Regions from separate parts of the Homo sapiens genome. Here region 2 is linked to region 1. Evidence: promoter capture Hi-C in 16 types of primary human blood cells and fetal thymus (Javierre and others, 2016). All regions are on one chromosome and are shown on one strand. Each heading gives the region's core, a stretch centred on a gene start or on the middle of the fragment in contact. The rest is flanking DNA. Distances are from core to core; before and after follow the strand shown.

Region 1 (6,463 bases), core at 2,411-4,910:
AAGGAATTTGAGGGGTATTCATATTTTAGGTTTTTACATAACTATATATATATATATTTTTTTTTTTTTCCTCCCCAGTTGCACTACTTTTCTGTCTCATTTCCTGCCATTCCCCACATATAACCTGTGCATTCTTGCAATGCCTTGCACGGTATTCTTGGAACACACCATCTTCTTTCTTCCCTCCAACTTGGCACTGACCCCTATTCCTAGAACACACTCCATCCTCTGCTGGAAAGAGTCTAAATTATTCTCTGAATTATTCTTCCAGACCCAGCTTGAACATCACATCCTTCAGGAAGCCTTCCTGACTCTTCTGTGCTCGTAGAGCAAAGTGGATCCTTTTTCTATCAAATCCTGTTTTTGCTCATTTTGGGGCCATCTCCTATTCTCTGAGGTCCTGAAGGGCACAGATAGACTTTACTCACTTTTGTACTCTCAAGGTAGAACACTTTTCCAGATAGGAGATCCTCAATAGCTTTGTAAAATAATAAATTATGAATTAATTTTTGGCTCTTAGATTACATTCTCTTGAACTTTGGTTAATTTATCAAGGAAATTTTGCCATGATTATCCTGTCCTATAATGCGCAAGTTAATTCTATTTTCATATTGATCTCTAGCCCCTCTGCATGCTCTCACCTCTCCCTCGCACTTCAATTTTGGTATTATTTACTCAATTTATAAGATCATTATTTATTCTATAAATCTGGTCCCAGATAAACATAGGCCACCTCCAATTAAACACCCCTTAATAGAATTAATACCTTATACTTTCATGGCATGACCAATATTTTTCAAAGCACTTTTACTAACACACTTTATTCTCACACTAACCCTATAAAATAAATGAGCAATATATTACTCTCCTTCAGTATTTAGAAGCTAAAGTGAAATGTTCTCCATGAAGTAAGAAGCAGGGAGAAAAGAAAACTTGAGAAAAACCTTGGCAGTGCCCAAATAAGCCCTGAGGATGGAAGATGCACCATATGGCCTTTCTTGGCCATGATTCCCCAACATGAACTGGAGCTAAAGATCTGGCTCACTGCACTTTTTTTTTTTTTTTTTTTTTTTGAGACGGAGTCTTGCTCTGTCACCCAGGTTGGAGTGCAGTAGCGTGATCTCGGCTCACTACAACCTCTGCCTCCCGGGGTCAAGCCAAGTCTCCTGCCTCAACCTCCTGAGCAGCTGGGACTATAGGTGCGTGCCACGATGCCCGGCTAATTTTTTGTTGTTGTTTGTATTTTTAGTAGAGACGGGGTTTCACCGTGTTAGCCAGAATGGTCTCGATCTCATGACCTCGTGATCCGCCCGCCTCGGCCTCCCAAAGTGTTGGGATTACAGGCGTGAGCCACCACGCCTGGCCAGACTCACTGCACTTTCAAACTTCTCTAATCCCTAATATTTTACTGAAAAATTGAGACCCAGACATACTAAATTAACATGTATTACAGCCAAAATAGTAATCCAGTTCTTTTGATCCCCACCATAAAATCCCACTTTGCATAATTATTTTCACCTTTACAAATGGAGCTATAATCATCCCCAGCACAAAGAAGCCTCATAAATCTGCTTTCACAAACATTTAGAAATGAAAACTCATGTGCTTTTCCCCAAAAACCAAGTTCCGTATGATGATCAAAAAATACCCCATTAATTTTATGGAGTTAGTTGCACTGAGCAACTTTAAAATGCCCAAATACAATTACTGCATCAGAGTGCATAAGAAAGTCTCTAATCCATAAATCAAGGTCTTACTTTCCACATTGTGTATTACTTTCAAGTCAATGCTCTGTACTCAATGTTTAATGCTTTTTTGAAAATATTTACATTATAGATTGATAAGAATCAAGGACTTTAACATTCTGACTGACTAACAGCAAACTCAGTTTAAGCTAATGAGAAAAAAAGCAATGCTCACGATCTCAAATTGGTAATGGTAGGATGAAACACCCTCCATGAGTTTAAGAGAATTAGTAATGGGATAGAAATAGCAGAGATTGAAGGCATAATGATCTATTTCTCTTACATTTCTAACCATTTTGATGTGGCCACAAGAATACACCCAACCGTGAAAAAGGGGAGGCCCATGGTGCACCTTAAGCACTGGTGAGAATACAACACACTACTGCTCCTGGGTTTACACCAGGGCATTCTCCAGCTGTGTTCTTGGAAAAGCTGGATCATCTCAAGAAATATATCTTTTTTTCCAACCTCCACACACTGCTCCCAACTCAGTGACTCCACCTCTCCTCTGTCATTTTTTTTCCCCCATTATACGGAAGGAGGAGAATGTTATCTCTTCTTTTATAATAGGAGGGCATCAGTTTTCTGTGTTCCTTCTTCCTGCATGACACTTAATACAGTTTTTAAAAGGACTAGTTCAATATATTTTTTCTGCACATGAATTATATTTGTTTTATGCTCATAGGTACAAGAAGCTGTCTGCAAGCAACTGGGAAGTGAGGCTGGAGGGTGGGGGAATGAGGAAATGAGATTTTTAACTTTGGTTTAATTATTTGAAATATTTTTATCTCACTTTTAGTAAGAAAACTAGGGGAGAAAAACCTGGTAATGACGGGAAAGGGAGCTGAAATAAGTGGCGAGGGGTGCGACTTCCTGCCTCACTGCTCGGGACCTTTCCGAAGCTTTTCCCCAACCTATGTCTCTAAGCCACAAGGAGGAAGCACTGGAGGGGAATCAGAGGCGGCCAAAAGAACTTATGTCCAGGTGAACACAGGTGGCGAAGTTCTAAGAAAGAGCACCGGATTCATTTGACAGAGAAGTGTAAGGAAGAGACAGACGAGAGAGAGACAGACAGACGAGAGAGGAGAGAGAGAGAGAGAGAGAGAGAGAGAGAGAGAGAGAGAGAGAGAGAGAGAGAGAGAGAGATCCCCTGAAAGGCAGAGGGTTAAGAGAGAAGGAGCGAAGGAGCGGGGCGCGACTCTTACCCCCCAGCCAGTTGTCGGAAATGTTCTGGAGCATGGTGACGGGAATGCAGAAGAAGGTGATGAGCAGGTCACTGAGCGCCAAGGAGCAGATAAAGATGTTGGTGACGGTGCGCATGGCCTTGCTGCGGGTCACCACGTAGAACACCAGAGCATTGCCAAAGAGCGCCAGGGCGAAGATGAGCACGCCGGTGAGCACGAGGGCCAGCTTGGCGCGTCCCGGCAGCTCTGGGGTGTAGACGAGCGGTCGCAGCCGGTACAGAGCGATGAACTGCTCCCGCGTCAGGTTGTGGTCCCGCAGCAGCCGAGAGAACTGCTCCGGGGTAATGTTAAGCGCCTGCATTGCTGTGCGCTCCCGGGACGCGGGGCCACCGCCCGCTACTGGCTGGCCATCCGCATCTGCGGGGCAGCGAGGGCTTCGGGGGACCAGCCGGAGGCCGCCTCCCTTCCTCTACTCTGGAGTCAGCCGCGCGGGAGGGCTCTAGGCTGCACCCCGGGAGGTTCGGGAAAGGAGAGCAGCTCAGGGATCAAACCCACGATAAAGAGGCGGGAAGCCAAAGCACTGGGAGACTCGATCTCAGTGACCAAAAAATGTTCGCGGTTCAAATAAAGTTCTTCCCTTGCTCTTCCCTAAGGCGAGGCGCCGCCACGGTCTGGGGTGCTGGAGCGCCACGCGAGGGTCCTGGCGCCTCTGGCTCCCCGCCTTCTGGCCATGCGATGCGGACGCCGGACCCGCTTGGGGAGCGGTGGAGGGTGGGGCTGAACTCGGTGACGCCTCCCTCACACCCAGCTTCAGTGGCGCCAACGCCGCTTCCCCGCACCCTCAGGGCGAGGGAAGACTTCCCTGGCTCACCAACTTGCTGCCGCCCAGCGCCTTTCTCAGGGCATGGCCCCAGTCAGGTAATGCTTGTATGTGAAACTGGGTATTGGGGGGTTCCACAGTTTCAAGTTTCTCCTCTTGCGTAATAATGGGAGCCACAACTACCCAAGGCAAATAGGGCTTATTTTAAATTATTTTCTGTATTGAAAAATAATTAAGATAGTTAAAATATAGAACTTGGGAAATGGCAAAGATAATACAGAAAGATCCTGCGTACCCACCCTTCACCCAGTTTCTTTCATTCATTACATCTTATTTAACTACGGAACAATACAAAACCAGGAATTTGACACAGGTACAGTGTTTGCATGTTTTTATCTCAAGTGTAGATTCCCGTAACCGTCAGGATACAAACTCTTCTATCACCACAAAAATCTCCCTGGTGCTTTTTATACTCACACCTAGCCCCTCCCTCCACCATCTCTAACTCCTGGCAACCACTAATATGTTCTCTCTTAACTTTTGTCAGAACATTACGTAAGGGAAATCATACAATATGCTGCCTTTTGATATTGAATTTTCTTCGCTCAGCCTAATGCCCTTTAAATCCATCCAAGTTGTTGCATGTATTAATGGCTGTTTCTTTTTATTGCTGAGGCTGTATCACCGTTTATTTAACCATCCACCTCTTGTAGAACATTTTGGTTGATTACCATTTTGAGCTATTAAAAATAAAGCTGCTATAAAGAATCATGTACAGGTTTTTGTGTGAACATAGTTTTCCTTTCTATAGGAAATGCCAAAAGTTTTGATTATTGAATCTGTAATGTGTATATTTAATTTTTAAAGAGATTGACTACTTTTCAGAGTGGCTGTACAAGTCTCCATCTCTACCATCAATGCATGAGAAGTTACGTTTCTCCACATCCTTGCCAGCATTTGGTTTTGCTGCTTTTTTTTTTTAAGCTATTCTAATAGATCTGTAGTGATATCTCTTTAGGGCCTTAATTTACATTTACCTAATGGCAAGTAATATTGAACATCTCATGTGCTTATTTGCCGTCCTTGAATCTTCTTTGGTGAAATGTCTTTCCATGTGTTTTGTCCGTTTCTAATTGCATGGTTTAGTTTATTTGCTGTTGAAAGTTCTTTTTATATTCTACATACAAGTCCTTTGTTAGTAAACGGTTTGCAAATATGTTCTTCCAGTCTGTAGCTTGTTATTTATCTTCTTAACAGGGACTTTCACAGAACAGCTTTTAGTTTTAGTGAAGTCATATTTATCAATATTTTCTTTTATAGATAGCTTTTAGTGTTCAGTCTAACTTCACCAAAGCCTATTTCTCAAAAACTTTCTCTTAGGTATTTTTCTAAAAGTGTTATAGTTTTACATTTTATGTTTTGGGCTCTCTATTCTGTTGAATTGATCTATGTGTCTATCCTCCACATTCTTGACTACTGTAGCTATATAATAAGTTTTGAAATCAGGTAGCATGATTTCTCATACTTCATTCTTATTTTTCAAAATTATTGTAACTATTCTAGGACCTGTGCCTATTCATATACATTTTACAATCAACTTGTCTATGTCTACAAAAAACCTTGCTGGGATTTTGATAGAAATTGACATATTTACTAGGTTGAGTTTTTCAATCCATGAGAAGAATGTCTTTCCATAAATTTACATCTTTGATTTATTTCAAAGGCATTTTACAGTTTTCAGCATGTAAGTCCTGTACATATTTTTAGATTTGCACCTAAGTATTTCATTTTGGGCGGACATTTGTACACGGTACTGTACTGAATTTCTAATTTTTGGTTCCATGTGTTCATTACTAGTATGCAGAAATCCAATTTATTTCGTATGTTGATCTTGATTCCTCCAATGTTGATGAATTCACTTAATTTTATTAGGAGGTTGATATGATTTGGCTCTGTGTCCCCACCCAAATCTCATCTTGTAGCTCCCATAATTCCCATGTGTTGTGGGAGGGACCAGTGGGAGATGATTGAATCATGGGGGTGGGTCTTTCCACGATGTTCTCATGATAGTGAATGGGTCTCATGAGATCTGATGGTTTTAAAAACAGCAGTTTCTCTGCACAAGTTCTCTCTTTGCCTGCTGCCATCTATGTAAGATGTGACCTATTCCTCCTTGCCTTCCACCTTGATTGTGAGGTCTTCCCAGCCATGTGGGACTGTAAATCCAGTAAACCTCTTTCTTTTGTAAATTGCCCAGTCTTGGGTATGTCTTTATCAGCAGTGTGAAAATGGACTAATACAGAGGGTTTTTTGGTAGATTTCTTGCATAGACAATCACATTATCTGAGAAGAAAGACAGTTTTATTTCTTCCTTTCTGATTTGTATGCTCTTTATTTCTGGTTTTAGCTGTTGTTTGTTTGGTTGTTGTTTTTGTTTTCTTTTGTTTTTTTTTTTTTTTATTTTTTGCCTAACTGCAATGGTTGGAGTACACAGTTTACTATGTTAAATGGCAATGGAGAATGGAGATCATCCTTGTCTTGTCCTCAATCTTATAAGGATGTATTCAGCCTTCTTTCACCATTAAGTATGATGTTAGTTGCAGATGTTCTTTATCAACTTGAGAAGGTTACTGTCTATTCTCAACTTCTTGAGAGATTCTATCAATGGTGTTAAATTTTGTTAAATGATTTTTCTGCATCAATTAATACTATCA
Region 2 (7,251 bases), core at 1,607-4,106, 360 kb after region 1:
TCACAAGTTCAAGACCAGCCTGGCCAAAATGGTGAAACTCCGTCTCTACTAAAAATACAAAAATTAGCCAGGCATGGTGGCACATGCCTATGTTTGCAGCTACTCAAGAGGCTGAGGCAGGAGGATCACTTGAACCCGGGAGCTGGAGGTTGCAGTGAGCCAAGATTGTGCCGCTGCACTCCAGTCTGGGCCACACAGCGAGACTCTGTCTCAAGAAAATAAAATAAATCTGTGTAACCAAAATATGCTAGAAATAAATGATAGTTACTTAACAATGTTGCTTATTCATAGTGAGATTTTCAAAAGTAAAAAAACAAAAATTTTTGTTTTCTTTAAAAAGAAATTTGCTCAGAGGTACAAAATTTTTAGTAGCTTTTCCGTGAATAACATTTAAATTTGAAATGAACAGATTAAACATTTTAAAAACATTTTTCTTATAGAAAAGGAAAATTTTAATTACTTTAAACTGCTTTGGATATTCATTTACTTAAATCCTTTTCCATATTTCTCCGATCTTAAAATATGTTTGAGATGAGCAAAATCACATAGAATTTGTTAAAGATACTGCAATTCAGGAGGAAGTATTTGAAAAGAGGACTGACCCATATTCTCTTCAAATATTTTATTCTTACTTTTTTTTAAAACCAAGAAGGGTAGTTTTTTGCTACATTTTAAAAAAATGATTGCTATGATTTGAGTGTCCCCTCCAAAACTCATGTTGAAACTTAATCCCCAAAGTGGCAGTATTGAAAGTTGGGGCCATTAAGAGGTGATTGAATCATAAGGGCTCTGCCCTCATGAATGAATTATTAATCCATTGATAGGTTAATGGATTATCAGGGATGGGGAACTAGTGGCTTTATAAGAAGAGGAAAGACCTGAGTTAGCATGTTAGCATGCTCAGCCCCCTCACCATGTGATGCCCCGTGCTGCCTCAAGACTCTGCAGAGAGTCCCCACCAGCAAGAAGGCCCTCACCAGATGCAGCCCCTCAACCTTGGACTTCTCAGCCTCCAGAACTTCAAGAAATAAATTTCCTTCTTTATAAATTACCCAACTTCAAGAAATAAATTTCCTTCTTTATAAATTACCCAGCTTCAAGTATTCTAAGCAACAGGAAACAGACTAGTGCAATGATTTTCACATTTCTACTTGAAGTGACTAATAGCAACATATTTCAATGTTTTTGTCTTTCAAAAATAATTATGTTTTATAATTCCTAGTGACACTTCCCTCTCTTCAAGTCTCATTTAAGAAAACTGAAAAGTATTCAGGTTCTCAAAGTCAATTGGTAATAAATGGAATTTGCAGGGTTTTTTTCTTTGCTGCTGCCTCTGAGCATGGCTTCAGCAGTGCCACATCATGAATCCAGCAATGTATAGCAATGTATATTCACACATTCTTCTCATGTACTGTGCTAGGCTGTGGAGCTTAAGGCAACAGACAGCTTCTCGCTTTTTTTAGCTTTCCAGGCAAGAGCCCAAAACAACTTGTTAAAATAGGTGTTTTAAGAAAGTTAGAAATGAAAGAACTATAACCATGATAGAATGCTTTGAAATGTATTCTATCCCAGTAGTCCCTCCTCTAGAATACCAGACTGTCCTTGCAAATGATAAGCTGGAACTTTATTGTCCAAATTCAGGGGGCTGCAAGGGTGAGTGTTCTCTAATACTCCACTGGCATCAGCTTAAATGTTGATGAATGTGGATCTGATTCAAACAGCCCAGGGAAGCAACTCTTGTAAAAATTTCTAAGACCTTATGCCGGGCTACCTCATTCCTTCTGTGTCTCTTCTTTAAGCACTTCTTTCACTTGGCTTCCAGGATAGCTCTCTGGCCTGCTTTATTCCCACCTCTCTGACCTCCTGCCTCACCTCTTTTGCTGGGTCCTCTCCATTTGCTCACACTCTGAACGTTGCAGTGCATTAGGGTTAGTCCTTGGCATCTTTTTTCCCCTTCCCATACTCACTTTTTAGGTTATCTCATTTATTCTCACCACCCTCACTTGCTAAGCAGTCTCATTCATTCTCATGGCTTCAAATGCCATCTATATGTTAATGACTCCCAAATGTAGAATTCTGAACTCAAGCTTAATGCTTCCACAACTGAGTTTCTATTATTGCTTCCACCCCCAGTCTGCTCCTTTTATTGTCTTCTCCATCTCAATTGATGGCAACCTCAACTTCCCAGTGGCTCAGGCCAGAAACCTTGGAGTCATCTTTGACACCTCTCTTCCTTTCACATTCTGCATCAGCAAATGTGATTGTCTCTGCCTCAAAATGTAGCTGAGGGTAGGGTATGGTGGCTCACGCCTGTAATCCCAGCACTTTGGGAGGCCGAGGCGGGCAGATCACTTGAGGTTAGGAGTTTGAGACAAGCCTGGCCAACATGGTGAAACTCTATCTCTACTACAAATACAAAAATTAGCCGGGCATGGAGGTGGGCACTTGTGGTTTCAGCTACTTGCAAGGCTGAGGCAGGAGAGTCACTTGAACCCAGAAGGCAGAGGTTGTAGTCAGCTGAGATCATGCACTGCACTCCAGCCTGGGTAACAGAGCAAGACTCCATATTAAAAGAAAAAAAATCTAACCAGAATTTGACTTACCCAGTACTGCCACATTATACAATTCCAAGAGGCCCCTCTGACATTAAACATATAGTAAGTGATACCTCTGGAAGCTCTGGATTTGTGAGTCTCACCACCTCCACTATCACCATCTTAGTTCAACCATCATCATCTCTTGCCTCATTGTGCAACAGCCTCACAACTTGTATATTAACTTCCTCCTTCCCTATTCAGTGTATCCTCAACATAATGCCATCAAGATTCTGTTAAAGCACAAGTCCTATCATATCACTTCTCTCCTCAAAACTTCCCAATGGATTCTCAATTCAGAGTAAAAGCAAACATTTTACAGTGACCTCTAAGACCCTACTTGATATGGTTGTCTGTCACCAACCTGATCTCATCTTCTACGAGTACTCTGCCCTTCCCTCACTCCATCCTTGGCGTACTGAACACTTCGCTATTCATCAAACATGCCAGGAACCGCAGGGTCTTTGCAGTTTCTGTTCACGTTGCCTGGAATGATCTTACCCCAGATTTCTCTCTCTTTGTTAGGTCTTTATTCTAATGTCACCTTCTGAATGAGGCCAGCCCTGGCCACCCTATCTAAAATTTTAGTCATTCTCCCCTGTACTTCCTATGCTCTTCCCTGCTTTATATGTTCTCATTAGCACATTTCACTACCTAAAGCAGTGGGAAGATACAGCATCATCCTCCAGAATGCAGTAAACACTCTCCACCTAATGAATTTGATATGGTGCTGTGTCCCCAGTAGGCAGAATACACAGGTCCTGGAATCAAGGGGTGGAAGGAGAAATGACCCTGTTTATGCTCATTCCCAGTGATCCACTTGCAGAATTTGTGGATATGCCCATGATACTGTGATGTCATTAAATAGCTAAGACGTGCTTTTACAAAAGAAGTTTAGATTTGATTTTGCGAAGCATTTTCACCCGTTAAAATCACAAGTGACCTGTATGGAGGTGGATTTGTTCATAATCACATTGGATATTGTCTCTGGACAGTTCTTTCCAATCCCAATACTCCCACCTGGTGGCCATAAAAGCTTAGATGCTGAATAAAGAGTTCAGATCAGGCTGATAGTGTGTTCCCCAAATTCAGGCTGCAGAGTCCTCTGGTCACAAGCCCTTAACCTTGGATTCAAGGGCCCAAGGCTGGGGGCTAATAGGCAACACCATGGGCTGTGGGTGCAAAGTGTGAAAAGAAAGGGAGTTGTAGGGAAAATGATGCCGGCATAATAGCACCTTCCTCAGAGCTGTGGTCAGGCTTCAGTGAGCTAAATTCACATCAACATAGGGCCTGCCATGTGGTAGACATCTAATATAATTACACACTTTTATTATCATTAATCCAAGATGAATGGGCGTGCCAGTGGACACAATCAAAAGACTACCCAAGAACCTGTTTTTAAGGAGAATTGTGATGTTTGAGCACAGATCTGAGAGGTGAGATGAATATCCAAAGGCAGATTCCCTCTTCTAGTACAGATGTTTCACGTAAGAAAATAAACAGGCTGGGTGTGGTGGTGCACGCCTATAATCCCAGCACTTTGGGAGGCTGAGGCAGGTGGATCATGAGGTCAGGAGATCAAGACCATGCTGGCTTACATGGTGAAACCCCATCTCTACTAAAAATACAAAAAATTAGCTAGATGTGGTGGCACACATCTGTAGTAGTCCCAGCTACTTGGGAGGCTGAGGCAGGAGAATCGCTTGAACCCGGGAGGTGGAGGCTGCAGTGAGCCGAGATCGCGCCACTGCACTCCAACCTGGGCAACAGAGCGAGACTCGTCTCAAAAAAAAAAAAAAAAAAAAGGAAAAAAAAAATCAGTGAGGCTATGAAGTTAATGCAATTTAACAAATATGGAGAGCAGCTCAGATCTTGTTATACGTCATAAAATTCCTACAAGAGAAAGAATCCAGTTTGGATTATAGCTTTGAAAAAAATGTATCATAATTCAGAGACTCTCTACACAGAAGAAAACGTGTAAGTATAATGAATGTGAAAAACATTTCAATTCCGTCTCACCCTTTACTGTCCATCACAGAACACACGCTGGAGAAGGCAGATGTGCGGTGACCCCAGAAACATCCTCGCCAGGGCTCTGCTTTGCCTCATGTCAGCAGCCTTGCTGGGCAGAAACCTCACACACATAATGAATGTGGAACCCTCCAGGCCCCATGAACATCAGAGGGCTCGCGCTGGAAATATTTAGATCCTGGCATTGCTTCTCTCTCCTCTCAACTACTCAGATGCTCGTTATCTCTGTGTTCATAGATTTTTGGCTCTTGATTATGTTTTAGTTAGGTCAAAAAGTCTGCTGACATTGATCAAATCCTACTACTACTACTAACTTTTAATGGTTCATCTGAGCCTACTGAATATAGTCAGAACTCTCCAAAATGTCTCTGTGTGCATTCTGAAATTCTGAGCAGGAGGCTGAAGGACCTCAGGGCATGGGGTGTGTTTTCATCTTTCATTCCAAGAGAAGTCTGTGACTTTGCAAGATTAAAGAGGATGTGAGAAGTAACCAGCCGGCTTTCTTTATGGATAGGGGTGAATTTGGATTTCTGGAACAGTGGACTCTTGTGGAGGCTGGACTATTTTTGCATAAGCTGGAAAGAATACATTCGGCAGAAAAGTGCCAACCTGACATTTGCAGGGAAGGAAAAAATGCCCAGATACAACTGTACACATATGAAGAATACCAGGAATCACATGGGAAGAACAATAGCATAGGAGCAGACTAATAAGTCTTGGCAGAAACAAGGAAGTGGATTAGGAACAATACCATGACTTCAGATATCTATATAGATTATCAAAGTAAAGGTTAATTCATAATACATCTAATGAATTTAAAATTTTAGCAAAAGGAGAGGAATACTGTGTCAAACAAAAGAAGATATTGTGAAATGGGACAAAAAAGTAAGAATGCAGTGATGAAGACTACTTTACCTAGCAGAAACACTAGGTAACATGATCAGTAACTATACATCACATATGGTCACATATGTTCAAGGTGTTTCTCAAGTATTATTATCTGCCTTTTCAGATGGGGAAACTGAGGCACAGAGAGGCAGTCACGTGATCAATCTAGGATTTAAATGCAACAGCCTGGCTCCAGTATCTAAGCACTGCCTCTCTAATAGAGTAGAGCTAGCCAACAGAGAGTGAGAGAAATTCATATACTAGAGAATGGAATCAATCATTGTGAGATCATTTCAGTTGCAAATAAAATGAGAGAAAAAAAGTGAAATTCATGTAAGACAGGCATCCTGGGCAGGCATTAGATAAAATAATGCAGTTTAATTCAGAGAAATAGCTGGCACAGAGACAAAATGTAGTACTGATTGATTATTTCAGCTGTTAGAAAATCTGTTGTCCAAATGTCCTCCCTTCCTCTGTGTGGGTTCTGAGAAGCCACAGCTGGTGAAGGCAGTTTTGCGTCAAAGCTGCAAGGAATGTGGAGGAATCATGGAGAACAGGGTGAGAACCACAAGTTTAGGGGCTGGCTGGCAAATGGTCCTCTTTTCAAAAAGCAGACAGAGTGGGCTGGGGTGAGGAGAGGAGTCTGGAAATTATGAAAGAACAAGTTTAATGTCAATCCATATCAAAATTCTATGTTTAAAAATAGAGTCTGTGAGCATTTAGAAGTGCAGCCATCTGAAAACCACTAAGTCGTACTTTGTATTTTGTAGGAGTGGAGATCAAATTCCAAATGTAGGCCAATCATTTCCAGTTTCTTCACAGTAGATAAGACTGGCTAAAATCTACTGTGCCCACCAGGTTAGAAAGTACACCAGCTATCTCAGCATGGCTGTTTGTGTTGGCAATAAGGAATCTGGAATCAGTGACTTGCTGTCACTGACCAGACACCCAGTGAGCCCAGAGTAAAATTCTGATTTACAGCCTATTTCTATTCATCACCATGTTGGCCTAGACCGTATGACAAGGCTTCTAACTCACTTTTTTTGCCTAGCTCTCTAATTCCAGTTTGTCCTAGAGGCTTATCCTTTGCTCTAGTCCACTAGGTTCAGCTTCCTTTAGTCCTGGCCTCTGACCCAATGTAAATGGACTGATTATCCAGATGTACAATGCTACCCACTGCCTGGATACCTACTCTCAGGCTTCACCACATAAGTCTGCCTAAAATGTACACTAATTCAACACCTGTCTTTGAACACTGCATATGGTGGAGGCAGTCCGACTCAGACTTCCAGGGCCCCATCTTCATAAGGGTTCACAGCTTTCTCTGTCTCCCTGCAAGGCATCATCCATTGCCTTCCTGCAATATAAACTGATTCTCTTGGGCCGTAATAAGAAATGCCATAAGCATAGTAAAAAGTAGTTTTCCCCTGGTATCTGACAAAACTTCGTGATTTTCTATTGACAAGATGGGGAGATGTGGTGTGGATGATAGAACAGTTAGGTGGATTGATATCTAGCTGAAAACTAAACTCGAAGTGTCTTGAGAAATGAATCCACGTCAAACAGCCTAGAAGGAAGTATGGGCATGTTCTAAGCCTATATCTGACCCAAACTTAAACAATGATTTTGCCAGAAACCAGATAAAGACATAAAAGGCAAAAAAGTTAGCCAAGTTTCCTACGACAACAGCCTAAGAGAGTTAATATGTGGGATAACTGTATGAAGAAATTTTTATCAT

What was found. The method cuts DNA at HindIII sites, captures the fragments that hold promoters and counts their contacts. A CHiCAGO score of 5 or more calls a contact.
Region 2: a contact is called between a fragment that was not itself captured here and the fragment with the promoter of QRFPR in region 1, in 2 of 17 cell types (M1 macrophages and M2 macrophages). The highest score is 7.2, in M1 macrophages.

What each region holds. Positions count from the first base shown.
Region 1 is chr4:121,377,358-121,383,820 of GRCh38, forward strand. It overlaps QRFPR (pyroglutamylated RFamide peptide receptor), which reads right to left and starts at 3,661. Exons shown (of 6, transcript NM_198179.3): 1 at 2,951-3,661. The coding sequence starts at 3,290. RefSeq lists an enhancer at 3,447-4,231. The HindIII fragment of the contact is 7,115 bases long and covers 2,646-6,463 here.
Region 2 is chr4:121,733,315-121,740,565 of GRCh38, forward strand. No RefSeq gene overlaps it. Among named protein-coding and RNA genes, the nearest start is that of PP12613, 28 kb to the right of the region's middle. The HindIII fragment of the contact is 1,543 bases long and covers 2,086-3,628 here.